Linked DNA regions of Homo sapiens: regions 2, 3, 4, 5, 6 and 7 are each linked to region 1. The links are contacts of gene promoters, found by promoter capture Hi-C in human tissues and cell types (Jung and others, 2019). All regions are on one chromosome and are shown on one strand. Each heading gives the region's core, a stretch centred on a gene start or on the middle of the fragment in contact. The rest is flanking DNA. Distances are from core to core; before and after follow the strand shown.

What was found. The method cuts DNA at HindIII sites, captures the fragments that hold promoters and counts their contacts. A contact is called where the count stands out against the background at its distance.
Region 2: a contact is called between the fragment with the promoter of TFEB here and the fragment with the promoter of GUCA1B in region 1, in 2 of the 25 tissues and cell types used here (pancreas and spleen).
Region 3: a fragment that was not itself captured here is called in contact with the fragment with the promoter of GUCA1B in region 1 in 2 of the 25 tissues and cell types used here (lymphoblastoid cells and thymus).
Region 4: a fragment that was not itself captured here is called in contact with the fragment with the promoter of GUCA1B in region 1 in 1 of the 25 tissues and cell types used here (H1 embryonic stem cells).
Region 5: a contact is called between a fragment that was not itself captured here and the fragment with the promoter of GUCA1B in region 1, in 4 of the 25 tissues and cell types used here (IMR-90 fibroblasts, dorsolateral prefrontal cortex, hippocampus and 1 more).
Region 6: a contact is called between a fragment that was not itself captured here and the fragment with the promoter of GUCA1B in region 1, in 2 of the 25 tissues and cell types used here (mesenchymal stem cells and spleen).
Region 7: a contact is called between the fragment with the promoter of USP49 here and the fragment with the promoter of GUCA1B in region 1, in 1 of the 25 tissues and cell types used here (mesenchymal stem cells).

Annotation. Positions count from the first base shown.
Region 1 is chr6:42,192,848-42,197,184 of GRCh38, reverse strand. GUCA1B (guanylate cyclase activator 1B) reads left to right here and starts at 2,229. Exons shown (of 4, transcript NM_002098.6): 1 at 2,229-2,571. The coding sequence starts at 2,365. The HindIII fragment of the contact is 9,949 bases long and covers 1-4,337 here.
Region 2 is chr6:41,733,468-41,737,804 of GRCh38, reverse strand. TFEB (transcription factor EB) reads left to right here and starts at 2,197. Exons shown (of 9, transcript NM_001271944.2): 1 at 2,197-2,455. PGC (progastricsin) reads left to right here. Exons shown (of 9, transcript NM_002630.4): 8 at 1-75; 9 at 801-1,094. The coding sequence ends at 953. It overlaps MIR10398 (microRNA 10398), which reads left to right and starts at 4,195; the gene lies at 4,195-4,251. RefSeq lists silencers at 2,039-2,508, 2,549-3,078, 3,209-3,648 and enhancers at 4,299-4,337, 4,305-4,337. The HindIII fragment of the contact is 30,918 bases long and covers 1-4,337 here.
Region 3 is chr6:42,650,745-42,655,081 of GRCh38, reverse strand. UBR2 (ubiquitin protein ligase E3 component n-recognin 2) reads right to left here. Exons shown (of 47, transcript NM_001363705.2): 24 at 3,011-3,059; 25 at 2,437-2,591. Among named protein-coding and RNA genes, the nearest start is that of PRPH2, 70 kb to the left of the region's middle. The HindIII fragment of the contact is 4,700 bases long and covers 1-4,337 here.
Region 4 is chr6:42,632,850-42,637,186 of GRCh38, reverse strand. It overlaps UBR2 (ubiquitin protein ligase E3 component n-recognin 2), which reads right to left. Exons shown (of 47, transcript NM_001363705.2): 13 at 4,283-4,337; 14 at 1,641-1,769; 15 at 1-176. Among named protein-coding and RNA genes, the nearest start is that of UBR2, 71 kb to the right of the region's middle. The HindIII fragment of the contact is 3,846 bases long and covers 1-3,838 here.
Region 5 is chr6:42,593,638-42,597,974 of GRCh38, reverse strand. It overlaps UBR2 (ubiquitin protein ligase E3 component n-recognin 2), which reads right to left. Exons shown (of 47, transcript NM_001363705.2): 4 at 3,671-3,784. Among named protein-coding and RNA genes, the nearest start is that of UBR2, 32 kb to the right of the region's middle. The HindIII fragment of the contact is 7,676 bases long and covers 1-4,337 here.
Region 6 is chr6:42,483,011-42,487,347 of GRCh38, reverse strand. No RefSeq gene overlaps it. Among named protein-coding and RNA genes, the nearest start is that of TRERF1, 33 kb to the right of the region's middle. The HindIII fragment of the contact is 5,855 bases long and covers 1-4,337 here.
Region 7 is chr6:41,893,604-41,897,940 of GRCh38, reverse strand. USP49 (ubiquitin specific peptidase 49) reads left to right here and starts at 2,566. Exons shown (of 8, transcript NM_001286554.2): 1 at 2,566-2,617. RefSeq lists enhancers at 2,169-2,358, 3,293-3,807 and silencers at 2,408-2,700, 2,489-2,728. The HindIII fragment of the contact is 16,047 bases long and covers 1-4,337 here.

The sequences.
Region 1 (4,337 bases), core at 980-3,479:
ATTCCAGTTACTAGGGAGGCTGAGGCAGGAGAATCGCTTGAACCCGGGTGGCGGAGTTCACAGTGAGCCGAGATCGCACCACTGCATTCCAGCCTGGGTGAAAAGAGCAAAAACTCTGTTTCAAAAAAAAAAAAAAAAAAGAGAGAGAGATCAAGTACCTTTGAGGCCAGTGTATGGGATGGGCTGTTTATCCACTTGGAGGTCACAGTCACTGAAATGACTGACATGATGCTTTGAGACAAGCAGGGAAGTCACCAGTGAATGACAGTAATGAGGAGAAGTAAATAGTGGCAAGGAGTCAGATGTGGCTTCAAAGGGACTGGCCTTTTTTGGGGAGAAAAAAGTAAAAGGCCATTTGGAGGCAAGAGTTAGAAGCGAGGAGGACACTAGCCCTGTTATCTAGACCTTGAGGTGTGTGTGGGGGAGAAAAACCCACCACCACTTGAAAGGATGACAGAAGAAATCACATTTCTCCTTCAGGAATAGCAAGAAAGTTAAAAGAGCTTTCAGAGCTCAGTGACGTCTGGAGGCAGAGAACAGTGAGAGAGGAGGTCAGGCCTGGAGATGTGCAAAACAATTCAGGCTGAACACCCAGTGAGGGATGGGTAGGTTAAGGATAGATTCACTGGAACTGCTGCCTCTGAAGTCTTCTAGAAAAATGAGTGTCACTGGGCGTGGTGGCTCATGCCTATAATCCCAGCACTTTGGGAGACCAAGGCGGGTGGATCACTTGAGGTCAGGAGTTTGAAACCAGCCTGGCCAACATGATGAAACCCCATCTCTACTAAAAATACAAAAATTAGCTGGCTGCTGGGTGCATCAAACCAACATGGCACATGTATACCTATGTAACAAACCTGTATGTTGTGCACATGTACCCTAGAACTTAAAGTATAATAAAAAAAAAAAAAAGAAGAAAAAATAGCTGGGTGTTGTGGTGTGCACCTGTAATCCCAGCTGCTCGGGAGGCTGAGGCATGAGAATCACTTGAACCCGGAGGCGGAAGTTGCAGTGAGCCGAGATCACACCACTGCACTCCAGCCTGGGCGACAGAGCGAGACCCTGTCTCAAAAAATAGAAATTTAAAAAAAAAAAGCAAAGAAAAAGAAAAATGTGTGTCCCTGGTCTTTTGATTTCTTGGAGGTGTCATTTTTATGTTACATTAAAATAAGCATGAATATGTAATTGTTCAAAAGCAAATTTTACATGACCTATAATGTAAAAGTAAGAGCCTTCAAAGATATTTTAGGCCATGCTCCCAGATCCTTCTCACATGTTAGTATTTTGGAGGAAATGTGAAAAAGGCACTACCCCTAGGTCTTGTGTGAAGGGTTGGAGGGAGGCATTTGTAGTTTAAATCAGAAAGTGAAAAGCTCCCAAGATGAAAGGTGTAATCTGGAAAGGAGCTTCAGGGACCGAGTTAGCCTGGGAAGAGAGTTGCTCACCTAGAGCCCTTCCCATCATAGATTCTGCCTCTTTTCACTAGACCGTCTGAGGGGCGAGTCCCAGATCACCAGCAGATTCTGTTTTATGGCCTAGGACTTGATCTCACTTCCTCTCTGGATTTGAGTCTCCTGTCTCCAAGATGGGCCTCCCTGAAGCAATGTGAGGCCCAGCTAAAGAGATAGGGAGTGAGTGAGATGGGAGGATCCCAGCCTAGCACCCCGACTCTTTCTTCACTCTGCATCTCTCTGCTTACCTCTCAGTTTCTTCCCCTTCTACCTCTTCAGAGTCTACCAGGGCCAGCTTGGTTGCTTTGTTGACAAGGCTAAGGGAAGGAGTGAGGCTGGAGGAGTTTAGGCTGGAGGTCAGAACTTCCTGGGGAATCTCTTTTTTTTTTTTTTTTTTTTTTTTTGAGACAGAGTCTCACTCTGTCCCCCAGGCTGGAGTGCAGTGGTGTGATCGCAGCTCACTGCAACCTCTATCTCCCAGGTTCAAGTGATTCTCCTGCCTCAGCCTCCTGAATAGCTGGGATTACAGGTACCCACCACCATGCCCAGCTAATTTTTTGTATTTTTAGTAGAGACAGGATTTCACCATGTTGGCCAGGCTGGTCTCGAACTCCTGACCTTGTGATCCACCCACCTCGGCCTCCCAAAGTGCTGGGATTACAGGCATGAGCCACCGCACCCGGCCACCTGGGGAATCTTCTAATAGTCTTAGGGCAGCTTAGCTGGCCTGGACCCACCTCCCTTGCCACCTGCCCCCTGCACCGACTGATCATGTTCAGTCACCCAGGAGATGATGGAGAGGCTGATCAGGCCTCCTGGAAAGGGAGGAAGAGGGCCCTAGTTGGAGAGATCCATCAGCAGAAGCCAGGGAGGAGATACAGACCCTTGCTCCCTGATGCTCCTCAGGGCTAGCATGGGGCAGGAGTTTAGCTGGGAGGAGGCGGAGGCAGCTGGCGAGATAGATGTGGCGGAGCTCCAGGAGTGGTACAAGAAGTTTGTGATGGAGTGCCCCAGCGGCACACTCTTTATGCATGAGTTTAAGCGCTTCTTCAAGGTCACAGACGATGAGGAGGCCTCCCAGTATGTAGAGGGCATGTTCCGAGCCTTCGACAAGAATGGGGTAAGGCACCCTGAAGGGAAGGACCAGTGGCCAGTCCACCTGGCGCCTTCCTCCACAAGTGTCCTCAGGGAGAGCTCCCAGTTCCCCACTCCTCGGCTCTTTCTCTGCTCTTCTTTCCACTCCGTCTCTCTTTACCTTTTCTGTCTCACTCACCAAACCCTTCTGTCTCTTCTCTTCCTTTTGTCCCTTTCCATCTTCTCTGTCTCTCCTTCCCTCCCTCCATCTCTTAGCTGTCGGCTGATGCTCCCTGTGTCCTCTTCTTGAGAGCTGAAGGGCGACTGGCAGACAGTCCAGGTCCTCTCTTTGTGTATTTTTGACCAAGACTCTGCAGCCCAATGACCGGGTTTTCGCATCTGCCAGAGCCCCTGTCACTCTAAACACTAGGAGCAAAAGAGATGTTCTAAATGAGACAAGGTATCTTAGCATGGGCTATGAGCTCCCTCTTGTTGGGGTTCTTCTGAGACTGGTCAGATCCTCCCTGTCAAGAATGCTGGAAGAGGCTCCTGCATGTATTGGGAGACTGGGCGAATGACTGCAAAAGCCCCTTTCAGCTCTTCAAGTCCTGGAAGGTTTCATTAAATCATTCAGACTAGAGTTTCTCTAAGCCCACAATGTCACTAGCAGCTAAGAAGATAACACATCTTGTAAATGCACCAGGGGATTGAATTTTAAATTTCAATTCAGTTAAAAACCCCTTGATTATTTAAGGTTATCCAGTTCAGTGCCCTGGCAATCCTCAAATACCTCAAATACCTCAAATGCCCTGGTATTTGCCTCAAATACCAATTTAATCTGAAGAAAGTGTCAGTTCTCCATTCCTCAGTGCGTGGAGAACTTAGCTTTCTAAGCTGAATCACTGGGAATGCCACTTCAGGTCTCATCCTGTCGCTGGTACCAGTCAGTGCACGTCCCCACAGTGCCTGTCCCGGGACAGGAGGGTGAGGTCAGCACCTTCAATTCAACAGAACCTCCTTAGAGATGAACCCCATCGACCACCCCACAGGGCACAGAGCCAGTTTCGGACTTCTCAGCGCTCCGCCTCTCTTAGGTCTCCTCTGAATCAGCAGCAACCCTGGGTGGGAGGGGCAGACTTTTGTTATTCCAAATTAAATGATGAGAAAGCTGGGCAAAAGGGAATGAATCGATTTGCCCAAGGTCTTAAGTGCTCCTGCCTAGAAGGCAGGTTTTTTAAAGAGAGAAGATGACTTTTTAAAATAATTGATGTTTTTTTAAAATGTAAGAAAAGTAAACAAATATATCAGGTCATAAATAATAAGACTCATTTAAGTCCATCAATCTTCCCCAGATTCATCTAAAAATCAATACGATCATGATTCAAGATCCAAAGGGCTGATTAAGCCCCTAGGCATATAGTTGTACTCCTTATACCTCATCTCTTCTTATAAATCGGCATATGATGTTCATCAATGTTTTTTCCTTTTTGAATAACTTTTTAATTTTACTATGATTCTAAATTTACAGAAGAGTTATAAGAATGATACAAGTAACTCCCATATGCAATTTATCCAAATTTCCCCAGTTATTCACATTTTATATCATTTACTTTATCATTCTGCCTCTCTCTGTATACATACATATATATAATGTATCCTATAAGTATATATACATATACATGATACATAATTTATACATATACTTTTTTTAAGAGAAAGCTATAGATATCATGCCCGTTTATCCCTAAGTATTTCAGTGTGTATTTTCTTTTTTGTTTTTGAGACAGAGTCTCGCTCTGTCACCCAGTGGCA
Region 2 (4,337 bases), core at 948-3,447, 460 kb after region 1:
CAGAATCTGCCCAGCTTGACCTTCATCATCAATGGTGTGGAGTTCCCTCTGCCACCTTCCTCCTATATCCTCAGTGTAAGTCCTGGTCCCTGCAGGCTGAGCCACCATGATTGGGGTTGGGAGGAAGGGCTGGGGAGCCAGAAATGCTGGGTCTCCTGCCTTGTGCCATTTTCCGACTCCACGCTTGTACTCATTTATCTTCCCCACTCATTGATTCTAAACCCCCTTCTCTGGAACAAGGCTATGAAATAGAAGATTGTCATCTATGATCAATTATTATTAATTAGTGGGGAGAGGCACTGGGCTCTTTGTTGAGCACTTACTAGGGCAGACCACTGTGCAAAGCACTTTGCTTCATGATCCCATTTAATTGTCACAGTATTTAATGAGGGAGATACTCATTTCTGTTTTACAAATGAAAACTTGGAGGTTCAGAGAGGTTGAGTAACTGACTCAAGGCGACACAGCTAAGGTTTGAATTCAAGTTGGTTTGGCTCCAAGGTTTAACCACCAGGCTGATCTGCTCCAAATTGGGAGCAGGAGGGAGGTCTGTGGGAAGAGAAGTTTCCCATCATGGGGAGAGGAGACCCTGCTGAGGACCACGGCAGCCTGAATGTACCTGTTCCAGAAATCCTCCCACCCGCTCTGCTCTGGTGGCTCAGTTGGCCTATGAGCCCTCAAGGCAGAGACCCTGGCTCCCTCAGCTCTGCACTTGTGCTCCCAGCCCAGGGCTCAGAGCTGAGCAGGGCCCAGCTCATGTGTGGACAAATGAATGAGTGCTGCCTTTCTTTGTTGAGCAGAACAACGGCTACTGCACCGTGGGAGTCGAGCCCACCTACCTGTCCTCCCAGAACGGCCAGCCCCTGTGGATCCTCGGGGATGTCTTCCTCAGGTCCTACTATTCCGTCTACGACTTGGGCAACAACAGAGTAGGCTTTGCCACTGCCGCCTAGACTTGCTGCCTCGACACGTGGGCTCCCCTCTTCCTCTTGACCCTGCACCCTCCTAGGGCATTGTATCTGTCTTTCCACTCTGGATTCAGCCTTCTTTTTCTGGACTCTGGACTTTCTCTAATAATAAATAGTTCTTCTTTATGTTGGTCATCCTGTTGTTTTTGGAAGGGAGTTTTCCCTGAGTGGCTACAAGGTTTCCTGGTGGGTCACTGTGATTCTAAGAGAAATGGGACCTAAGGCATGGCTTGGGATGGGCTCTGTAACCCTCAGAGCTTAAAGTTCATACTTTTCCCCTGGAAAGGGAAGACAGTGGTAGCGCCATCATGGGTGGGTGGGTGGCGGGCCGGGGGAGAGTGTTCCTACTTGAGTCACAGAGAAATCGAGCCTATTTGCTGGAACCAACTCAGCAAGGGATCTTGTCCCTTTGGACTTCATCCCTGTCCTCCTCAGGAGCCTCTTAGCAAAAGATCCAGAAACCAGGAGCAACATTGTATGTGGGGAAGGAGGAGAGAGAGGAAGAAAAGGAGGAGGGGAAGGAGAAGAAAAGCAGGGGAGGGGCTGGGGGAGGAGACAGGGAAAAAGGGGCGGGGAAGAGGAGAAAGTAGAGAATGATGCCTCCGCACCCTGTGAACTTCCAACAAGGGAAGGTGACATGAAAGGAGCTCAGACAATTTCTGTCCAGCAACATGACAGCAAGCTCAGGCTGGTGAGTGGGGCGTGAATGTAGAACCCATAATGGGGGCAGGCTGCCTTCTACTGTCATATTTTACCCTGTACTTCGCCAGGCTCACCCTGGCCTTGCCCCTTATGATCGGGGCAGGGATAAAAGTGCAAGATCCAGGTCCTGCACCCTACTCCTGAAGAGAAGCTGGAATTTGCCACAGGTGGAGTTTCTATGGCAACAGCACACCATCTGGGACCCTCTCTTTCTTAGACTGCCGAAGGACAGCAGGCTGCAGGTTCCTTTTAGGGGGTCGGACAGGCTACAGAATGTATCTTAGTGAGCCCTGGTTTGGGACTTTACTGAGAGGAGAAAGAAAACTTGCAAAGAGGTAGAAGTGGATCAGAGGTTCCAAGTCAAGAGCCTCTTTCCCTGTAAGCCTTAGTCCGCTGAGCGGGACTACAAATCCCGGCGTGCCTAGCGGGACTGCAGCGAGAACTACGCTTCCCAGTGGGCGCCGAGGCAGAGCGGCTGGGAGGCGGGGCGGGTGCTGCCCTCTGCCGGGCGCGGAGGGAAGTGTGCGTGGAGTGACAGCCGGAGCCCGGGCGCCGGGCGCGGGGCTCGGTGACAGCGGAGGCGGCGGCCCGGGCGGGACGCAGGGAGCGGCCGCGGCGCCGACGGCGGCGGGAAGGGCGGACGGGGCGGGCCTCCCTGGTGGCACGGGGCCGGAGCAGGCCGGGAGCAGGTGGCGGGCACAGCTTGCGGGCCAGGCACCCGAACTTGCGACAAGTTGCCGGAGCCGCGGGGCGCGGGCGGCGGACAGATTGACCTTCAGAGCGAGGTGAGCGGGACCGGGGAGCGAGAGGCACGAGGAGGGCCCGGGACCCCCGACCCAGGCTCCCTGGCCCCTATCCCGTGGGTCCCGGAGACAGGTGGGAGGGTGGGGGATGCCGGCAGGAGAGGGAAGCAGGACCGTGCGCGCCGCCACCCACCCGCAGTCCGTCCGCCCCCGGGCGCCCAGCGCGTGGCCCGAGCGGCGCTGCCCGCCGAGCCGGGAGCCCCCTCGGCCCCTCCCTTCAGGCGCGGGCCGGGGGCGGCTTCTCCGCGACCTTATGTAACCGGGCGGGAGGGGCCGGGCGGGCATGGGCCTTCCCGGCCCGGAGCTGGGAGTCGAAGGGGCGGGAGGCGTGATGGTGAACTCGCAAGAAGTTTGAGGGACGCGCGGGCCCCGCGCCCACTCCCCCTCCACCGGACACGGCTGGGGCCGGCGATGCCTGAGAGGGGGTCGGAGGTAGGGGAGGTGTGCGGGGGCTGAGTCTGGCCAGGCCAGCGGGGGGAGTGGGAGGGCCAGAGCGGCGCCACGCCCCGGGGGCTGGGCTGATGGGGGGGCGGGTGGAAGTACCATCTCTCCCTCCCTTCCCGTCCCTTCCTCCAGCTCGGTCTCTTGAAGAAGCCGCCCCTGGCCCCGTCCCCTCGAGTCCCTGGGCAGTCTCTTTCTCCCCGTGGGTTATTCTATGACCCTGGGGAACACCAACCCCGGAGCGCTCCCTCCGTGCGCCCCGTTGTCTGCCTCCCCCCGGGTTCCCAGCTGCCTGCCCGCCCCCCGAGTTTCCCCCTCCCCCCGTCTCGGTCCCGAATCCCGGAAAACACGCCCCCTTCCCCCCGATCCCCCGAGTCCGTGCCGCCCACCCCTGGGCTGTCCCGACCAGCTCTGGCCCAGCGCGTCCGCTCGCCTCCTGGAAGGGAGCGGGCAGATGCCAGCTCGGCCCCCTCCCCGCGCGGGGTTCCGGCTTCACGCACGGCTGCCCCGAGCTGCTCCGGGCTGCGCGAGCAGGTTCGCGCCGCAGCCGCCTGGCGCGCCCCAGCCCCGCGCCCCGGGTGAGGAAGGGAGGGAGCCCGGGGCGGGGCTTGTCTGCGCGAACCCCGCTGGGCCCAGGCCCCCGCCCTCCGCTCTCCGCCAGCCCCTGGCCGCTGCGCCTTCCCCCGAACCCCCCTCAGCTCCAGCCGTCGTTCTCTCGCCTGTCTGTTCTGGGGACGGTTCAGCGCGGAGCTTCTGCACTCAACTTGAGCGCAGTTTTTGGCTTAGAGCTCGCTGGGGAAGTGCAGGTTAATTACTGCCCAGCTCCCATCCTCTGCCCTCCCCCCATCCCGAGTGAGGGGCTGCTTCATCCCTCAGGGAAAGGGACAAGACGGATGCAGGCCCCCAGTGACACCTCTGGGGTGTGGCCTCAGGCCCCTGCACCCGCCCTGGCCGAGATTCCATTGGCCCAGACCTGGCACTGTTGGGCAGCTGGGGATGAGGTTGGAGGCTGGTCTCTGGTTTCCTTCTGGGTGGACAGATGCGGATGCGCTCGGTTAGAACGCAGTTCTTGGTGCCACGACTGGGAGACAGTCCTCAGGCCCTCCCCTCAGGGAGCTCACTGTCCGGGGAGGGACAGCCAGCAATAGTTCCTGGCCGGCCAGGAGAGGCAGAGGCAGAGGAAGGGAAGGGTCAGCTGCCTTGAGGTCCCTGCCTGCTAACCTGACGGTATGCTTTCACCATGCCGGTGACCCCAGCCCCAGGACCACGAGCAACTCGCCTGGCTCCCTTCTCTCCGTCTGCCTCCTGGCCGCGGGGCCCGGAGAGCTGGGAGCCAGAGGGTGTAAATGAAGGGCAGAGCTGTTTGGGTGACTCCATGCTCTGCTTCTCCCCGAGGGAAGCCAATGGTGCTTACCATTTACAA
Region 3 (4,337 bases), core at 1,085-3,584, 460 kb before region 1:
TCCTCAGGGTAAGCTAAAATTACACCAGCTGTGACCAGCAATTCACATAATATGTAAGTTTTATTCTATACCTATACTACAGACTTAAAAAAACCTTCCAAGAATTAGTGGTCAAGTAATTATAAAGCTAAACGTATCCCCCATGTAATTATCCAGTCTATGACACTACCTAATTTCTCTAAGGACTAAATCTTCATCATCTGAGAAAGACAAACTTTTATCTCTAATGCCTTATCATTTATAAACTTTATAGTTCTTCAGTGTATCTCACAAAATATTCCTGACCAGACTTCTAGAGACTGTATCAACCTATTTGTTTTTTTACTGCTCTTATCCCATGCCCAAGTTTTTTTGTTTTTTGAGACGGAGTCTCCCTCTGTTGCCCAGGCTAGAGTGCAGTGGCACAATATTGGCTCACTGCAACCTCTGCCTCCCAGTTTCCAGTGATTCTCCTGAGCCCTCCTGAGTAGCTGGGATTATAAGCATGTGCCATGACGATTGGCTAATTTTTTTATTTTTAGTAGAGATGGGGTTTTACCATGTTGTACAGGCTGGTCTTGAACTCCCGACCCCAAGTGATCTACCCGCCTTGGCCTCCCAAAGTGTTAGGATTACAGGGGTGAGCCACTGTGCCGGGCCCACACCCCAGATTTTGAAGGAGATATGTGTGTGATGTCTCTGTATCTTTCCCTTCACATGGGATGACTGTGGTTGTCAGAGACTTGGAAGAACTAGGTGACATAAAGCAAGTGTACATGTAAGGTAAATATTGTTCACACCTCTTCTCTCCATTATTTCCCACAAATCTTTTGTTCATGTAATGCTGACAGTACACGACAGCTAGTACAGCTGTACTAGTAGTGAGCTAGTACACCACAGCTCCATGCTTTTACACTTTAAATATGCTTATAGATAAATAGGAGGGCATTATAAGAATACACACATCTTAGCCAGTGAGACAAAAAGAAAGAATGATAGCTACTCAGCCTCCCGAGGAGGGCTCCAAAATTTGAATCTGAATCCTGGTTTTACTGCTTTCAAGCTATTAATATATACCCTAAGGGAACGCCTCTGAGCCCAAGTCATCATCTTTAGCCTTGGAAAAACAAAGCTTCCCTCTAGAGTTCTGAGGATTACAAATACTGTATGCAGAGTGCTTAGCATGGCCAGGCACGGTGGCTCACGCCTTGTAATCCTAGCACTTTGGGAGGCCAAGGTGAGTGGATCACCTGACGCTGGGAGTTCGAGACTAGCCTGGCCAACGTGGTGAAACCCTGTCTCTACTAAAAATACAAAAAATTAGCTGGGCTTCGTGACAGGCACCTGTACTCCCAACTACTTGGGAGGCTGAGGCAGGAGAATTGCTTGAACCCGGGAGGCAGAAGTTGCAGTGAGCCAAGATCACACCATTGTACTCCAGCCTGGGTGACAAGAGCAAAACTGTCTCAAAAAAAAAAAAAAAAAAAAAAAAAAAAGGGCTTAGCATGGAATAAGGCATAAAGTAGGCATTCTATTTAATGAATAATTGTTATATCACTTAGTAGATTAATATGGGAAGTTAATGGAACCTCATTGAAACTTGGCTTCCTCATCTAACAATGAGAAAAAAGTTGTATCTATTCATGGGGTGTTGTGTGAATTCAATGAGATAGTGTACGAACGGCTTACATTAAAACTATAAAGTAAAATACAAACAAGGGGCTGGGCATAGTGGCTCACGCATGTAATCCCAATACTTGGGGAGGCCGAGGGGGGAGGATTGCTTGAGTCTGGGAGTTTGAGACCAGCCTGGGGAACATGGCAAAACTGTTTCTACCAAAAATACAGAAATTACGCAGATGTTGTGATGCATGCCTGTAATCCCAGGTACTTGGGATACTGAGGTGGCGGGATCACTTGAACCCAGGAGGCAGAGGTTGCAGTGAGCCAAGATTGCACCACTGCACTCCAGCTTCCTGGGTGACAAAGCTAGATCCTGTCTCAAAAACACAAAAACAAAAATAACACAAACAAGGTTCCAGACTTGCCACTTAACTAGCTATAGGACCGTAAGTCTATGAGTGTCAGTTTCTTCAACTACAAAATAAGGATATGGATGATTCAAAAAAAATTTTTGTTTTGGAAAATAATTAGATTAGAAACATATATAAAAGATAACACATTATATCAATATCAGAATACTACATATATAAAGACAAGGACCAATCTAGGAGAGAACAACTGCCCAGTGGGACTGAGGTAATAACAACCATGTGGTATAAAAAAATCTGTCTGGCACTTGTTTTTACTGTCAGACACAAAAGCAGTAACAATATATTCAAGTTAGGAAAACACAATACATTTCGGCCTAGTTTTCCTGTGTATAGATACAGACAAGAATATTTTGCTTGTACTATAAAATACTAAAATATAAATAATAAATGTCTTCAAACCTACCCTTTGCAGCATGGACTCTGACCAGGCATATCCATTATGTTCCACAGCCCATTGCAGAATTGTTCCCATGATGCACAACATGACATCTGACTGCAAAATGTTAACCAGGCTTGCAAACAGAGGGCAGAATGGAGGCAACACCGGAGGTGGGAGTGCTGAAAATACAGTTGTTATTATTGGTTTCTTTTACAGAACATGCTTTAGAAACTATCTCTTTGTTACTTTTGATAGTTTTAACTCAAAGAATATTCATTAACACACACCTTAAAGCTATTATTTTACATTCTCAAGGTCAAATGCATAAAAAGAGCCACGAAAGTAGCAGCAGTACAGAAGAAAGTCTATCTTTTCCCCTAGAAAGGTCTTAAGATCTGAGATAACATCAACCCAGAGGACTTAGCACAAACTATTTCTGTGTTAACATATTTATTATTCCTCTGAATAGGAGGTTATTCACTAGGAAAGCTTACATTTAAATATTCATTCCACCAAGGACAATCATCATAGTTAACAGAAAACAATGTTTAACAAGCAAAAAAGATGGGCAAGACATTTTCAGAAAGATTAAAAATACCTGTATCTTCTCTATTTTGTCTTTTCAATTTCCGTTGCGCTTCTTCTGCCTAATAAAAAATAAAGTTATTTGGACCGGGAATTAGTAATGCCCACCACCACACCTGGTTAATTTTTATATTTTTAGTAGAGGTGGGGTTTCACTATGTTGGCCAGGCTGGTCTTGAACTCCTGACCTTGTGATCTGCCCACCTCAACCTCCCAAAGTGCTGGGATTACAGGCATGAGCCAATGTGTCTGGCCAAGGATGAACATCTAAAATCAGAAAATAACACAACAGAGGCCGGGGCGTGGCAGCTCACACCTGTAATCCCAGCACTTTGGGAGGCCAAGACAGGTGGATCACCTGAGGTCAGGAGTTCGAGAGCAGCCTGGCCAACGCGGAGAATCCCCATCTCTACTAAAAATACAAAAATTGGCTGGGCGTGGTGGCACACACCTGTAATCCTAGCTACTCAGAAGGCTGGGGCAGGATAATTGCTTGAACCTGGGAGGCAGGGGCTCTAGTGAGCCGAGGTCTGCACTCCAGCCTGGGTAACAGAGTGAGACCCTATCTCAAAAAAAATAAAAAATAAAAAAGATATCTATCTTTAAGTTCTAGTCCTCCCCCAAACGGATACATCAAGGTTAATTTTTTTTTTTAACTAAAAGAATCTCCAAACGAGTTCTCTATTACTTTAAATTAGAAGGGAAACATGTACTTAAATAAGTACAAACTTATTTAAGTTTGAACTCTATGACTTCATCAAAAACTAAATAAAAGCTTTATGTTTAAGTTTTATTTAATGCTGTTTATTGAAAAACCATTTTAAGAGGAGACTGCTAAAAGGCAGATTTTTTTTTTTTTTTTGAGATACGGTCTCACTCCCATCATCCAAGCTGGAATGCAGTGGTGCAATCATAGCTCACTGCAGTCTTGACCTCCTGGGCTCAAGTGATCCTCCTATCTCAGCCTCCTGAGTAGCTGGGACGAGAAGTGCATGACACCATGCCTGGCTAATTTTTGTATTTTTAGTAGACATGGGATTTCAACATGTTGGCCAGGCTGATCTCGAACTCCTGAGCTCAAGCGATCTGCCCGCCTCAGCCTCCCAAAGTGCTGGGATTACATGCCCCACCAAAAAGGCAAAATTTAATTACCTAGGAATGATTAGAAAAGCTCCATGAATCTCTATGAAAAAGTGTTAAATAATACCAATTCTGAAATGTGCATAAAATGGATTAACTGATTATAATACAGGTTGAAAATTTGTTTTAAAAAACTATACCCATATACGTAAAGGTATGTATTATATAGATCGTATATACATATGTACAAAACGCTAGGG
Region 4 (4,337 bases), core at 666-3,165, 440 kb before region 1:
AAGCGAGAAACTGGGAGGTGAATGCTAACTTTTTCTTGGGAAACACAGTATCTGATAGTTTCCACTGAATGTCCACAAATGCTTAGTGTGATTGGCTGTTCACCATCAGTATAACCACCATGACACTGCATCAGTACAGCGAGACATTTCTTGTAAGCTTCGATTAACACTTTTTCCTAAAAAAGAGGGTTTTTCTGTAAGTTACTCAAAAGGTTGAGTTTTTACAACATTGAATAAGCACCTTAAATTCAGTGAGTAAGTACCTCAAATAACAATATAGGCAAAACCAAACTCAATCCTCCCTCCCAAATTTGGTCCCTCTTCCAGTGTCCCTCATCTCAGTGAATGATACATTTACTCATATAGTGCAGAAATCTAGAAGTTATTCCAATACCCTCCTTTCCCCCATTCCCCATTGTCCAATCTATTACCAAGCTGGCAACTTCATCTTCTAAGTTTCTCTCAAAACTTGCTACTTTTCTCTATCTCTAGTAACTCCAAGGCATTGCCAAGCGTCTCTCTATTAAATTCCTGCTTTGACTCTTGCCCCCTTCATCCATTCTCCATACAGAGCAATTTTAAAAAACATGTAAATTGAATCATGTCACTGTATGGAAAATGGATAAAGGGGGCAAGAGTTGAAGCAGGGAATTTAATAGAGAGATGGTAATCTCTAAAGGCTTCCCACTTCAATTCAAATAAAATGCAGGCTGAGTGTGGTGGCTCACGCTGGTAATTCCAAGACTTTGGGAGGCCGAGGCAAGCAGATCGCTTGAGCCCAGGAATTCAAGACCAGCCTGGGTAACACGGCGAAGCCCTGTCTCTACAAAAAATAGAAAAATTAGCCAGGTGTGGTGGTGTGTGCCTGTTGTCCCAGCTACTTGGGAGGCTGAGGTGGGAGGATCACCTAAGCCCAGGGAGGTTGAGGCTGCAGTGAGCCGGGATTGCACCACTGCACTCTGGCCTGGGCAACAGAGTAAGCTGTGTCTCAAAAAAAAAAAAAACAAAAAAAAAAACAACCATGGCCAAGGCCCCGAAAAATCACTCCTGTGCCCAAATCTCTGTTCTCTACTTCTGTGCTCCAACCACAGACCTTTCTATAGCTCCTAGGACTACCCTAGTCCCTGTCATCACAGACTATAATGCAGCTGTCTTCTCAGTCAGGAATATCATTTACTCATTGTTCCATTAACTTTTACAGATTGTTCAGACCTTACAGAAACCTCCCTAACCTCATAATGTATACAGGCTCTCATCTAGACTTTATCGCCAAAGGAAGGCCAAAATAATTTTAAGACACAGGACAAATGTACCAATAATAAAACTTTATTTTTGAATAAATTTAGAAACTACCATTTTTATATCCTCAAAGTCTAGAAGGGATTATGGAAAAAAAACAAAGATAGTTACATTAGGGAAGAGACAATCTGGATTATTTCTTTCTCTATTTTTCAAGTTTTTCCTCAGGCTGTAGAATTTTAAAATTTTACTGAGTTTATAGGTGGAGAAGGAAAATACGCTGTTTAATGAACTAAGTATCACCACTATTTTCTCCAGATCTCCTTGAAATTTACTTAGGATTCTGCTTATTCCTCCCTCTTCCACTTTCCTCCTATTCCCCGCACCCAGAAGAAACTCACATCTGAAGCACACCAGTCCTGCATCATTGAAATGACATGTGTTAATTTCATTTGTAGTGTGAAGGCTGCTTCCCACTCTGGTTCCATTTCAATATGTTGTCCTACTTGACGTGTAATTGGATCCATTCCCTTAACGGAAGTGAAAAAATTATATATGAATGAAAATAATAGTTGTTCTTTTATATGGAAACCTAAGAAGTAATGTAGGAGAAATATATATTGATTATAAAAACATAGAAGGTATAAGTTTTAACAGGAAACTTCAAGTACTATGAGAAATAATAGCTTTTAAAATTATGTGTTTATATAACATTCTCTAAAATATAAATTTAGAAATCCCAATAAACACATTATTTCAGAGGTATCATCTAAGATCTGTTTTAGGCAATAAAATACTTCAATATTTCACTGCAATAATCCTTCCTTTTTAGCTCTATGGTCTATAGAAAAAATTGTTAAAAGAAATGTGACAAGCTTTTAAAATGTTATTGAATTTATAACTGTATTTTATAATAAAGTTTTAATATTATGTCCTAATATGCAATTAGAAGTTTTCACAGAGCCTGAAAGAAGGCAAAACAATAAATAGCTTTTAATTAAAATTACTGTTCAGAAACTAGCCTAACTATTCTAGTATGTCAGAACTTATTAAACAATAGAGAATACAGAATACTTCAAGTATCAAAAATGACCAAAGTAGCTATTGTTTTCACAGATACATGAAAAACATAGTAGTATTATAATAAACACCCATGAACTACCACCCAACCTAGGAACTAGAATGGTAAGTCAGGCCAGACATGGTGGCCCACGCCTGTAATCCCAGCACTTTGGGAGGCCGAGGCGGGTGGATCACTTGAGGTCAGGAATTCAAGACCAGCCTGGCCAACATGGCGAAACCCTGTCTCTACTAACAATACAAAAATGAGCTAGGTGTGGTGGCGTGCACCTGTAATCCCAGCTACTCGGGAGGCTGAGGCAGAAGAATTGCTTGAACCTGGGAGGCAGAGGTTGCAGTGAGCCAAGATCGCGCCACTGCACTCCCGCCTGGGCGATAGAGCAAACCTCCACCTCCAAAATAAATAAATAAATAAAAATAAATTCAAACAAATAAAAATAAAAATGGTAAGTCAACTTTGGTCATTCCTTTTCTTAAGAAAGCCAGGTGGCTACTAAAGAAATCATAATAGTACTTGCTCAGATTTTTAGAGACGTCACCTATCTTCTTACAGTTATAACTGGTTAAATATACCTGTTCGTTTCTACTTCTAGATTCTGTTTTGTATATAGGGATGTTTCCTAAAAAGAGAATTAAACAGGGGAAAAAGGTCTACACTGTATTATATAAATACCACATGAAGGAGAGAAAAAGAAACATGGAAACATTAAAAAGCAAAATCAAAAACCACTACAGTTTCTCAAATAACTTGACTATACTTCCAAGAAAGCATATTAAAAAAATAAACTTGTAACCTCTAAAGAAAGAACATTAGTGGAAACCAAAGAAATATAAAAGTGGCTGGCGCAGTGGCTCATGCCTGTAATCCCAGCACATTGGGAGGCCGAGGTGGGCGGATCACTTGAGGTCAGCAGTTTGAAATCAGCCTGGACAACTTGGTGAAACCTCGTCTCTACTAAAAATACAAAAAATAGCCAGGCATGGTGGCAGGTGCCTGTAATCCCAGCTACTCAAAAAGCTGAGGTCAGAGAATCACTTGAACCCAGGAGGCGGAGGTTGCAGTGAGCCAGGATTGTGCCATTGTACTCCAGCCTGGGCAACAGAGTGAAAAACTATGTCTCAAACAAAACAAAACAAAACAAAACAAAAAACAAACAAAAAAACAACCCCAAAAACTGGCCAGGTGCGGTGGCTCATGCCGGTAATCCCAGCACTCTGGGAGGTTGAGGTGGGTGGATCACTTGAGGTCAGGAGTTCGAGACCAGCCTGGACAACTTGGTGAAACCCTATCTCTATTAAAAATACAAAAAATTAGCTGGTGTGGTGGTGTATACCTGTAATTCCAGCTGTTTGAGAGGCTGAGGCAGGATATTCACTTGAACTCTGGAGGTGGAGATTGCAGTGAGCTGAGATTGCGCCACTGCACTCCAGCCTGGGCGACAGAGTGAGACTCCATCTCATAAACAAAACAAAACAAAAAAAACCAACACAGAAAAAACCCAAGAGCAGTAGATGCCGGAATGTTTGCTGGGATCTCCTTTGCTCCATACCTTTCTAAGAATTTCCAATTAAAGAGGAGCTTCCTGGTCAGAATTGCAGCCATCCAAATTGATCTTTTGGAAATGTGCACGAAATGAAAAGATGCGCAGACAGAAAGCTGTTCATTTCAATGAACAACAACAACAACAACAACAACAACAACAAAGAAGCTGGGCCTGGGCCCGTGCCTGCGCCTCTAGTCCCAGGCAACTTTGGAGGCTGAGGCAGGAGAACTGCCAGAGACCAGGAGTTCAAAGGTATAGTACACTATGGTTGTGTCTATGACTAGCCACTACACTCCACCCTGGGCAACACAGTGAGACCCCCATCTCTTAAAAAGAAAAAGAAAAATTAAAAAAAAAAAAAAAAAGAGAAAAGAGAAAAAAAAAAAAGGAAAAAGAAAAGTGTAACAGTTTTTACATACCTGCATACATTTTAGTAATTCCAAAAAGGCATCAAACCCTTCTAGGAACTTCTGC
Region 5 (4,337 bases), core at 958-3,457, 400 kb before region 1:
TAAACAAAATGCTATCTTAATACCCTTGAAGACTTCATTTCTCTTTTTTTTTTTGGTTTTTGAGATGGAGTTTCGTTCTTGTCCAGGCTGGAGTGCAATGGCGCAATCTTGGCTCACCACAACTTCTGCCTCTCGGGTTCAAGCGATTCTCTTGCCTCAGCCTCCCAAGTAGCTGGGATTACAGGCATGTGCCACCACGCCCGGCTAATTTTGTATTTTTAGTAGAGACGGGGTTTCTCCATGTTCGAGACCAAGCTGGTCTCGAACTCCTGACCTCAGGTGATCTGCCTGCCTCAGCCTCCCAAAGTGCTGGGATTACAGGTGTCAGCCACCACGCCTGGCTGACTTCATTTCTCTTAAACTTTTTTTTTTTTTTGGAGACAGAGTCTCACTCTGTCGCCCAAGGCTGGAGGGCAGTGGTACAATCATGGCTCACTGCATCCTCAATCTCCCCTGGCTTTGGTGATCCCCTTACCTCAGCCTCCTGAATAGCCGGGACTACAGGTGCACGCCACCATACCTGGCTAATTTTTGTAATTTTTGTATAGACGGGGATTTGCCATGTTGCCCAGGCTTGTCTTGAACTCCTGGGGTCAAGTGATCTGCCCACCTCGACCTCCCATAGGGCTGGGATTACAGCATGAGTCACCGCGCCTGGCCTTAATTAAACTCTTAAATATAAATTAAATGGTAGAGTTTGGAAGGCTTTATTCTTTGTCTAGTTCCAGGAGTATACATTCTCCAGGCAGGATTGTATGACTTTTGGCTAGGCAGGGGAGCTTGCTGGTGTCTTCTTAAAATTCAGGAAATTAAGTAGAGCTTGGACTGTTGGATAGCCATCCCACTAATGTATGAGGATAAAGCCAACAGAGCAAATGTAGGCAGATTCAAAACTTTTCATTAGAAAATTATTTTAAGTCTACTCTAACACAGGGATAAAAAAGGTAACAGAAGTCCTAAAGTATCTTTTCCAAATAAATGACATGACATTTACAGAACATAAAATTAACCATTTTAAAGTGAACAACTCAGTGGTACTTGGTACATTTATTATAACGTGCAACTACTACAATCTAGTTCCAAAACATTTCCATCACTCCAAAGTAAAACCCCTTACCTACTAAGCCATTTCTCTCCATTTTCCTCTTCCCCAGCCCCTGGCAACTACCAATCTGTTTTTTCTCTCTACAGATTTACCTATTCTGAATATTTCATATAAAAGGAATCATACAATATGTGACCTTTTGAGTCTAGCGTCTTTCACTTAATATGTTTTAGAGGTTCATGCATGTTGTAGCATGTATCAGTTCTTCATTCCTTTTTATGGACGAAAAATATTCCATTGTATGTATATTATCACAATTTGTTTATCCATTCATTCACTGATGGACATTTGGGCTGTTTCTACCTTTTGACTATTGTGAACAACATTGCTACAACATGTGTGTGCATGTACTTGCTCAACTTCGGTTTTCAGTTCTTTTGGGTATATATCTAGGTGTGAAATATACGGTAATGTTTAATATTTTGAGGAACAGCCAAACTGTTTTCCACAGCACTGAATCATTTTATATTTCCACTAGCAATATACAAGGGTTCTAATTTCTCTATATCCTTGTCAATACTTGTTATTACTTTAATAGTCATCTTACTGAGGGTGAAGCAGTATCTCACTGTGGTTTTGATTTTGCATTTCCCTAATGACTAATGATGTTCAGCATCTTTTCATGTGTTTGTTGATTATTCATATATCTTCTCTGTAAAAATGTCTATTCAAGTCTTTTGCCCATTTTTAAATTGGGTTATCTTTTTACTTGCTGAGTTGTAAGATATAAACTCTGCATACTAGATCCTTTTTGGATACATGGCTTGGATATACACACATATACTTTCTCCTGCAGTCCTAAAGTTTTATACCAGTGGTTTTTAACCTTTTTCTAAAGCACAATTCTTTTTTTTCAAATATATCTTTATTTGTCCTGTATTTCTACATACAGAACCCCAATCAACTATATAAAAATGGAGCTTCTCCAATAGAAGTGGAAAAATCTGGAACCTTGACCACTTGGCATCTTACTGTAGCAAATTACAGAACCCTTTCACAAAGCAAATGAAAAACAAAACATGTTTTCCATAGCACTGAATCATTTTGTATAAATTTTGATTTGTACATCAAAAGCTTTGGTCATTCTGATAAAATATATTTGAGACCTGTAGGATATGGGTACCAGGAAGAACTTTTTTTTTTTTTTTTTTAAAGACAGGGTCATGATCTTGGCTTGCTGCAACCTCTGCCTCCTATGGCTCAAGCGGATCCCACTTCAGCACCCCCAACCCAAGTGGCTGGGACCACAGGCACGTGCCACAACACCCAACTAATTTTTGTATTTTTTGTAGGGATGGGGTTTTGCCATTTGCCCAGGCTGGTCTCAAACTCCTGGGTTAAAGTGATCCACCCGCCTTGGCTTCCCAAAGTATTGGTATTATAGGTATGAGCCACCTTGCCTGGCTGAGGAAGGACTATTGATGTCCACTTGCCCCAAATCTATATCAGGCCTACTAACAATGTAGACGTACTTGAGTGTACCTATTCCCCTGCCATTTAAAAATAAAATCTGAAAGAAGGATCTTGAACTATACAACAAATTGTCATAAAATGTAGCAGAAGAGGGACTGCCACAGGTTGGCTAACGGATACAAGAACAAAGCTAGATAGAAAGAATGAGTTCTAATGTTCTACAGCACTATAGCATGACTATAATTAACAATTTACTGTATATTTTCAAATAGCTAGAAGAGCGGATGGTGAAGGTTTCCAAAACCAAATAATGTTAAATGCTTGAGGTGATGGATATGTTAATTACCCTGATTTGCTCATTACACATTGTATATATGTATCAAAATATCACACTGTGCCCCATAAATATCACGCTGTACCCCATAAATATGTACAATTATTGTCAATTAAAAATAATAAAACATAATCTATTGTAGCATACCATTGAAAGATTTAATCATTGTATAATTACAGTTAAGTGAGTTATTAGAAATATATGGAAAGTTTTTGAAGTTTTAAAAAAAGCAGCAGAGATTTAAGCATTTATTTTGTGGGACTCTACTATTCCATTACAAATCCATTTAAGAAAAATAATGCAGGATCAACAATTTGAAAAACACAGTAAGCAGTGGGAATTATTTGTACTGAGCTATCATCACTACACATGGTCCCATCACATAACCAATGATAATGGAAACCAGGAGATGATGATTGGGATTGGCTGTCATGTATGGTAACAGAAAAGAAAGCTATCTGGCCCCAAAAGTCTTTGTTATAATAAAGATATACAAAACTCAACTTGGTTAACTGGTCTACACATATGGGAAAAATAATCCTCTCAACCATAGGTTAGTACTCAAATAAACTTCAAGTATGCTTAAAACAAAACCCCAACCAAATAAAAAATCAGAATTAAATGAAATTTCCCAAATTTCAACTGTGTACTATTAGCAACCGTACAGCATCCACAAAATGCAAAGAACTTTCAAAGTAAACTAGTCACTGTCAATAGTGGAAGTACTATTTGCTTATCCATTTCTCACATCATCTAATGACTATTTCTCAAAATATTTCAAACTTGGGTTAAAAACAACTTTGTGAAAATGTTTTTACCTCTTCTTCCTCAATTTCAGAGGTGTTAAGTTCATGTTTTTGACAGTAAGGACCCTCTTTCCAGGCTTCAGTATCACCACAGTCACAGAAACCTCCACCTCCTGATGTTGTCATCTTGGAAAAAAATTGTAAAGTATCTTGTCAATAAATATTTACTGAGGGCTATCAGATAATAAATAAGAATATCAAGTGCTAAGGAAATACCATTGCTTAAGTGTTTAATTTCTTTGGAGGCATAAAATTAGATAAAATGCCAAACCTCTCAATGTTTTAAAGTTTATTTTAAATAAGCCTATAAGCTAATCTAAGTGATTTCAAAATAAAATAAGCTACTTTGTAATGTTTGCCTACATGACTTCCTTAATTAGGAAAATCATGAGGATCACAAGGGTTTTCTTGCTGGGTTTTGGTTAAATTGGTATAATGCTGATATCTACGCTACAGGTTGTGATGCTATAAACACAATAGACTCAGGGGTTATACAGATTCCTCTAGTTGCTGTCTCCTAGAGTCTAAGGGTGCTGCATTTGCTTTGGAGAAATTAACCAACAAAGACTATAGAAATAGTTAATTTTTCTTCTCTAATACACCTTAAATAGCCACTCTTTGAAAGGACAAGTAATAGGGGCTCAGGAAATGCAAAAGTAGACTGCCTAATAAAAGCTTT
Region 6 (4,337 bases), core at 1,099-3,598, 290 kb before region 1:
GGGAGGACGCCCCTGCCATCACAGGACACTTAGTGCTGCCATCACTGAACTCTCAACCCGACGCTGCCACCATGGACAATCTCTAATTGTCCTTTCCCGAAGATTTAGATCCCTGAGCAGGAGGGTCTGACTGGCGGGGCATTGGTCTGGGACTGCTCCTAGCTGTCTGGAGTTGGAGAGGTACACATAGGATTCCTCACCTCCTTTGCTATAGAAGACAGGATCCAGCTCCCACCAACATTCACCTAGTGAAGGATTCCCCTAAAATAGGAAGAGGGGTTGGATGCTAGACAACCAAAAGGAAGCAAAAAGCAAAAGTCACTTCGAGTGTTCTCATTAGATTCTCAAAGGGACCTGTAGCCAAAGAGCTAAAGTTAAGAACTACTGATAAAATTGATGCTATGTTTCATGGTAACTATAGTTAATAATAATGGATGTATCCTTAAAAATTGCTAAGAGAGTAGATTTTCAATGTTCTCACCACAAAAAAGCATGTGAGGTGAGAGATATGTTAATTAGCTGGATTTAATACTTTCAAAATGCTCACATATATCAAAATATCACAGTGCACACTGTAAATACATATGATTTTTATTTGTCAGTTATACCTTAATAAAGCTGGGAAAAAATTATGCAATATTTGCTTTTAGACTTTTAGTATACATTTTGATATGTGTAATATGCACATTAAAATAAATATATATTTAAAAATAAAAATATTGTACTGAATAGAATATTTCATATTAAATAATAAAATAAAAATATGGCCGGTGTGGTGGCTTACGCCTGTAATCCCAGCACTTTGGGAGGCTGAGGCGGGCAGATCATGAGGTCAAGAGGTCGAGACCATCCTGGGCAACATGGTGAAACCCTGTCTCTACTAAAAATACAAAAATTAGCTAGACGTGGTGGTATGTGTCTGTGATCTCAGCTACTCAGAGGCTGAGGCAAGAGAATTGCTTGAACCCAGGAAGCGGAGGTTGCAGTGAGCCGAGATCGTCCCACGGCACTCAAACATGGCAACAGAGTGAGACTCAGTCTCAAAAAAAAAAAATTATATATATATATATATACACACATATATATATACATATATATATACACATATATATACACATATATATATACACATATATATACACATATATATATACACATATATATACACATATATATATACACATATATATACACATATACATATATATACATATATACACATATATATACATATATACACATATATATACATATATATATACATATATATGTAAAATGTAGGTTTGTATCATTTTTTTCACATAATGTTATAACATAACTATTTTGCTATATTAGAGCTCTTTTGGCTGGGTGCGGTGGCTCACTCCTGTAATCCCAGCACTTTGGGAGGCCGAGGCGGGTGGATCACCTGAGGTCAGGAGTTCGAGACCAGCCTGGACTACATGGCTAAACCCTGTCTTTACTAAAAATACAAAAAATTAGCTGGGTGTGGTGGTGGGTGCCTGTAATCCCAGCTACTGGGGAGGCTGAGGCAGGAGAATCGCTTGAACCCAGGAGGCAGAATCGTACCACTATACTCCAACCTGGGCAACAAGAGTCAGACCCCATCTCAAAAAAAAAAAAAAAAAAAAAGAACTCTTTCATAAATATAATTTAAAATAAACACATAAAGATTCCATTTTGTCAGTGTGCCATAGGGAACATAGGGAATGAATTGTTCTAAAAGTCTGCAATCCTTTATCTGAAACTTTTAGGACCCAGTGTGTTTTGAAACTCAGAATTTTGGGGCCTTGTGTGGTGACTCATGCCTGTAATCCAACACTTTGAGAGGCCTAGGTGGGAGGATTGTTTGAGCCTAGGAATCAGAGACCAGTCCTGGCAACATAGCGAGACCCCATCTTTACAAAAAATCAAACAATTAGCCTGGCATGGTGGCACATGCCTACAGTCCCAGCTACTCAAAAGGTTGAGGTGGGAGGATTGCCTGAGCCGGGGAGGTTGAGGCTACAGTAAGCCATGATTGTGCCACTGCACTCCAGCCTCAGTGACAGAGTGAGAACCTGACACACACACACACACACACACACACACACACACACAGAATGTTTGGATATTAGATAAATAATATTGTAATTTTACCATATATTACTCAATGCCCTCTTTGGGGTGTAGGGCAATACCTTGTAATCCAACTTGATTATTCTGTAAAGAAAACATGTAGATATTCACGCTAAATGGAATAAATACCTGAACTGAACTGAGTAGTCTTATATCAGGTCAGTTTGTGCTGCCAATTGTGTTTGTACCAAACTTAAGAAAAAAATCTTTTGGTGTTCAGAGTGTTTTGGATTTCTGGATTTAGGGATGAGTGATTGTGGACATGTAATAGAATTTGATGCTTGATAAGGAAGAGTGGGAGAAACAGATGGGCTGGATTGTCTGTTAGCAACCATTCTGGGGACCGAACATCAGCTTTTCCAGGGGTTGGAAATGTGGGAAGACCTAGAATGCTAGCTAACCTAACACCAACCTGAGGATGAAGACAGTGCACAAATAAGTTCAGGCCAACTGAAGTGCAGGGAAACAGAGCTAGAGATACTGGATCAGTCTTAAACTTGACTACCTCTGGAATTGTAGTGATGACAACCAAAATATTTCATTATAATTTAAACTAAATTGAGTTAGAGTTATTTTTATTGGGGAAAAAAAGGCATCCTGATAGCTGAGCTGGAAGCTTGGGAAAGATATTTCTCCAAATCCCTTGCCAGTAGATCCCAGGAAAGATTCTGCCAATGAGAAACATTTACAGAAGATCTGGAAGGCACAGCATCAGAAACCATAATTTTTCCTCCAGCTGTGAGGAGCAGATATGTGACATTTGACAGACAGGACATTCAGCAGCAGCCTCTGAAAATTACCCCTGTGGGTGCTGTAGGCATCAGTGGTGATTCCCTTCAGTTCCTCATCTAGATGACAGGAGAAACTTTTACATTCTTTGAAGTCAACCATGGCATGATTATGAGAGCTCGTGGCACTTTTTCTAGATTTCCAAAAGTTGAAAAATGTGAACTTTTGAAATTGGAATATCAGATCAATGGACATAATTTTAAAGAGAGCAATTCTATTATTAATCAGGATGAGAGCTGTTTTAGGTCAGAAGGAAAACATTTTCAAGCTTTAACAAATAGCTGTTTAGAATTTATCATGTACTATATCTGACACTGCTGGAGACACCATGATTTAACAAGCTGGTCTGCCCTTAAGGAGATGGACGAGAGAAGAAGTGGGTTTGACTATATTAAACAACAATGGCTTAAACATAAAAGGCTTATTCATTTACAGAAAAGAAGTCTAGAGGAGATAGTCCGGGAATGTAAGAGTGGCTCTACAAAGCCATTGGATACTGGGCTCGTTCCATCTTTCTCCTCCATTGTTCTTAGTCAGTGGCTTCCATCCTGAAGTTTACCCGATGGTCCAAGACAGCTTTCTTAGCTCCTTTCTTCATCCCTCTTCACCTCAGGCAGCAGGAGTGTGAAAGCAGGAGAGGACAAAATGTCCGGCCTTCCTGAAGAATCTGCTCCCCTTAAGCAATCTTCCTGTAAGTTCTAATGTTTTTTAGAACTTATATCTTTTTTTTTTTTTCAGATGGAGTCTTGCTCTGCCACCCAGGCTGGAGTGCAGTGGCACAATCTTGGCTCACTGCATCCTCCTCCTCCCGGGTTCTAGCAATTCTTCTGCCTCAGCCTCCCACGTAGCTGGGATTACAGGCGGGCACCACCACACCCGGCTAATTTTTGCATTTTTAGTAGAGATGGGGTTTCACCATGTTGGACAGGCTGGTCTTGAGCTCCTGACCTCAAGTGATCTGCCCACCTCAGCCTCCCAAAGTGCTGGAATTACAGGCATGAGCCACTGTGCCCTGCCAAGAACTTAACATCTTATTGATCAGAATGTATTGACGTTACTGTACTTGGCAAGGGAGATTAGAAAATGCAATTTTTATGTGGTTGTTTGCCACCCTGAATAATTGGGATTCTGTTACTAAAAAGCAGGGAAGAATGAATTTTTGGATGGCAACTTATAATTTCTGCCTAAAGAAGTTAGAATTTACCTGGAGAAATAAGAACCTGTAGGCTTGAAAAGACAATTAATAATGTATTTAAAGGGCCAGGCAGTGAGCGGCAGAGAAGTTTGGTGGAGGAGGAGAAGGTGTCCAGGCCTCCCAAGAAATACTTCTTAGGACAACCAGGATTTGATCTCCCTTTTGAGGATGTGTAGAATTCATAGTTACAAAAAACTAGGAGGCCATCTCAGCAGGAGTTGCTGACCTGAGCAGA
Region 7 (4,337 bases), core at 1,317-3,816, 300 kb after region 1:
CTTTCAAATAAAAACGGTGTTCCATGAAGAAAGCTATTAATTCAGCTCCAAACTCAAATTGCAAGAGTGCTTTTCCTCAAGACAAATGTTGTACTTAAAAGTGCTTGATGCATACATACATGCATTTAATCACATAAACGTGTACTTAAATAAAACAATTTTTATTGTCTTCATCAAAGACCTCTTAAATGAAACAGGTGGTTTTTTTTTTTTTTTTTTTTGAGACAGTGTCGCACTCTGTTGCCTAGGCTGGAGTGCAGTGGTGCGATCTCGGCTCACTGAAACCTCTGCCTCCCAGGTTCAAGTGATTCTCCTGCCTCAGCTTCCCGAGTAGCTGGGATTACAGGTGCGTGCCACCACGCCCAGCTAATTTCTGTATTTTTAGTAGAGAGAGGGGTTTCACCATGTTGGCCAGGCTGGTCTCGAATTCCTGACCTCAAGTGATCCACCTGCCTTGGCCTCCCAAAGTGTTGGGATTACAGGTGTGAGCCACTGCACCCATCCGGCCTGAAACAGGTGTTTTTTTACTGTAGCAGTGAAGAATACCTTGACCTCTAGCACAACTTGGTGCAGTTGCCTTGATTTGTGCTAAGGCAGCAGTTTTACCCATTGCTACTTTTGTATCATTGTGCAAATATCATCACAGTGACAATGCAGATATGTCTCAGTATTATTAGGAAAATCGTTTTGATCTCAGGCACCCCACTATCCCCCCAGCCCAAAGGGTCTCAGAGATCCCTAGGCCTTTCCAGGCGACACTTTTTTTTTTTTTTTTTTTTTTTTGAGATGGAGTCTCACTCCGTTGCCAGGCTGGAGTGCTGTGGCACGATCTCAGCTCACTGCAACCTCCAACTCCCTGGTTCAAGCAATTCTCCTGCCTCAGCCTCCTGAGTAGCTGGGATTACAGGCACACGCCACCACGTCCGGATAATTTTTGTATTTTTAGTAGAGACGGAGTTTCACCATGTTGGCCAGGCTGGTCTTGATCTCCTGACCTCATGATCCACCTGCCTTGGCCTCCCAAAGTGCTGGGATTACAGGCGTGAGCCACCGTGCCCGGCCTCCAGGCCACATTTTTGAGAACACTGATCTAATACATGCTCACATCACTGAGAAACTTTTCCTCCTGTATTGCTATTCTGGGAGCATCCCTTCCATTGGAAGTTTTAAGTGGCTCCCAAATTCTTCACTCAGCAAAAGCACCTTGTTATGGAACTAACATTGAATAAGTAACAATCTTTCTTCTCCAAGAATTTTCTTGGGGATTGTTGAGTAAGGGAATAAGACATATAATTAGAGTTATAATGTTAAGAATTCCTTAAAAAGAATTATGTTAACTGTGATGGACGACAAAGGGAGAGCTAAATTCTGAATCTAACTCTGAGGCCTTGAACCTCATGATAAATCCCGACCAAACCAAATTGAAACACTCCACTTCCTCTCCTTCTATCAAACCTCTTTTAAAAGTGCAAGTTGTTAATAAATTGCCTACACAGCGCTTGGTCCAGGCATTGTAGTTTCCCCCTTCCTATTGTGTGTGGTGTTCTTTTTTTTTTTTTTGTGCTTACCTAGTTCTCCTGTTTACAGGTGTGTAACTTGAGCCACTACTATAGCTAATGTCTGTTTCTTTTACTTGTCCTTATATTTAAATGTAAGTCTTTATCTGCCTTAGCTATGTGTTGGGTGTTGAAATTGTTGATCTTATTTTGGGAGACTCCCATCCCCTCCCCCCACTACCACCCCGCAAGTAGTTTCAAGACAGTGCACCTAGGAGACTGCTTAACCTAAGCCTTTTGTAGCTTAGGTGCTGTTCTGTTTCCCAATGGACCACTACCAAGTCAGTCTGGTTTATTTCCCAAGCCTTACAATCTGCTGAACTTCTTCAGTTCCGGCAGCGATCCTCTAACTTGTGGGGGATTTCCATAAAACAGCTGAATCTCTCTTGGGTCATCTGTGGCAAAAGCCAGACACGTGCTCACCCGCCTGGGAGCCAATAGTAACTTTTGCAAACGCTGCCTCCGGAAACCCCACGGTTTGAGGGCTGCTGCTTTAGGAACAACACAGAAATAACGTCTTTTAACAGAATAAAACAAAACATACGGACGGGATAGTGAGAAAGCCTTTGTCCTTCGCAGTGGGGAGAGGTGTTAAAGGTGAACCGAAAAGAGTATGGGAAACTCATGTAAAATACCTTTACAGTTCCCCGGGAAGAAGGGGGCGGAGATGGGCTCGGGAGCGTCTCTGGCCCTTTAAGGAGGAGGGACAGACATAAGAGTCTGTACCTTTAAGAGTCTCTTTGTCTGGAAACCTTCTTATTTACCCTCCTGTGCTTCAACCAAACTTCGACCAGCTATTCACAACGTCCCCCTACGCCGCCGCCCCTTACGCCAGGCTCAAAGCGGCCGCGCGTTTGTGGCTGACCCTAAACTTTGCGCCTGCGGCGCGAACCCTCGGAACGGGTGCCGGTGCCGGGGTCGCGGCCCAGCGCTGCGCCGTTGGCGCAATGCAGGGCCTGAGGGGCGGGGCTCCAGCGGGCGGGCCAATAGACGGGCAGGGGGCGGGGCCGTGTTCGGTTGTCTCGCGCCCTGGTGACAGCTCGCGCGTGCTGATGATGGCGGTAAATAGAGGGGGCCGGGGGAGGGGACGGAGGAGGTGGGGAGGCAGCAAAGTGGGTAGCTCCAGGGGGTAGGGGGAACGGGGGCCGGGGAGGCCGCGACGGCCAGGGAGCCCATTCTAAGACTCGGAGGCGGGGATAGGAGTCTCCGGCTCACTAGCCCTCCCCTTTAAAGAAGCAAAATCCTCACACACCGGGTGAGGGGCGACAAAGGCAGCGCGCGCCTCGCGGGCGGGAGGAGCGGCGGCAGGGGGCGGGACCGCGGCGCCGGCGGGCTGGGGGCGCCCGGGGCGGGGGCGGCGGGAGGCGAGAGCCGGGAGTCGGGGCGCGCGGGCGCCTTATTTTGGCGGGGTGGGCGACGGCTGGGTTGGGGCAAAAGCGTTGAAGGGAGAGGGAAAGGAAGGCTTGGAGGCGATGAGGGGAACCGGGTTGAGAATGAGATGAGGAGGATTAAGGGGAGAAAGGGTTAGAAGCCAGGGAGAGGAGGAGTGAGAAAAAGCCAGCCAAGGAGATAGGAAGGAGGCAAAAGCCAGGGTGGGCGTTAAGGAAGCCGGGCAGGGAATGAGGTTAGGGCTGGGGAAAGGGATCCTGGGGTTAGGTGTAAGAGCAGGGGTTTGAAGGGGAAATCTTCGTAGCGGGTGGTGTTGGGGTGAGGGGTACCGGGGTAAGTGTTGGAAGTGGAAGACAAGGAGGGGCAGAGCTGGGGTAATAGTTGGGAGTAGGAAAGAGAGAGTGATTAAGAGCCAGACGTGACGAGGGTGTGAACTAGTGCGGAGCGAGATGAGCTGAAGGACTGGGACCAACGGTGTGGTGGGAACTGCTGGCGAGGTTCTGAGAAAGGAATGGGTTAGTGGGTGGGCGATGGATGTAAATTCTGTAAAGTGAGGGAGGGCAAATGAGACCTGGACTGGAACCAGGTGGAGTCAGGAATAAGAGTGTGGTGGAAGGGCGAAAGGAAACAGATAAGAGATGGGTGTCTGTAGGACGATTCTGGGACCAGAAGAGCTGAAAGGAGACTAGAGTTAGGGTGTAAGAAGTGATGGCCATCTGGGACAAGGATAACTGGGTAATTACGTTAATTGAAGAGGTTCAGCAAGATCCAAGGTGAAAACAGTGAGGTAAAGAGACAGGGCTAAAAGCAAATGGTGAGAGGAGCAGGAAGAGATGGGCCCCAGAATTTAAAGGATGAGATGGGGAGTAAGGGAAGAGAGGGGGCTAAGAGAAGCTGGGGGAGTCCTGATGGATGTAGAACTGGGGTAGACTGCAGGGGGGTGGGAATCGAATGTGCGTGTTATGGGGAGTTGCTCCAGAAGGTCTGCAAGGGTCAGGGCAGAAATGCTGTAGTGAAAGATCAAGTGTAAGAGAGCCTTTGGTGCAGAAGACGAGGAACCATGGTGAGTGAAAGGGGACCTAGAGACAGGGGTAAAGACTAAAAAGTAAGGGCAGAGGTGGGGGGTGCAGGAAAGGAATTCTTTGTTGAGGAGAGAACTGTGTGTTGAAACTGTGAATCCTTTTGTCCCTAAAAGTAGGAAATTCCAGAAACCTCTTTCTCTCAAGAAATCTTGAATCTGCTTCCACCCTTCATTGCTTTTGATTTGACTTTCCTGTCCACTTTGAAGAAATGAGACTCATTTTGATTTGATTTTTTTCTTGTATGGATGATAAAGTATAAACTCTGGGTGTTGAAAACCTCTGCATTTCACTAGTGTTGTGATAATTCGGG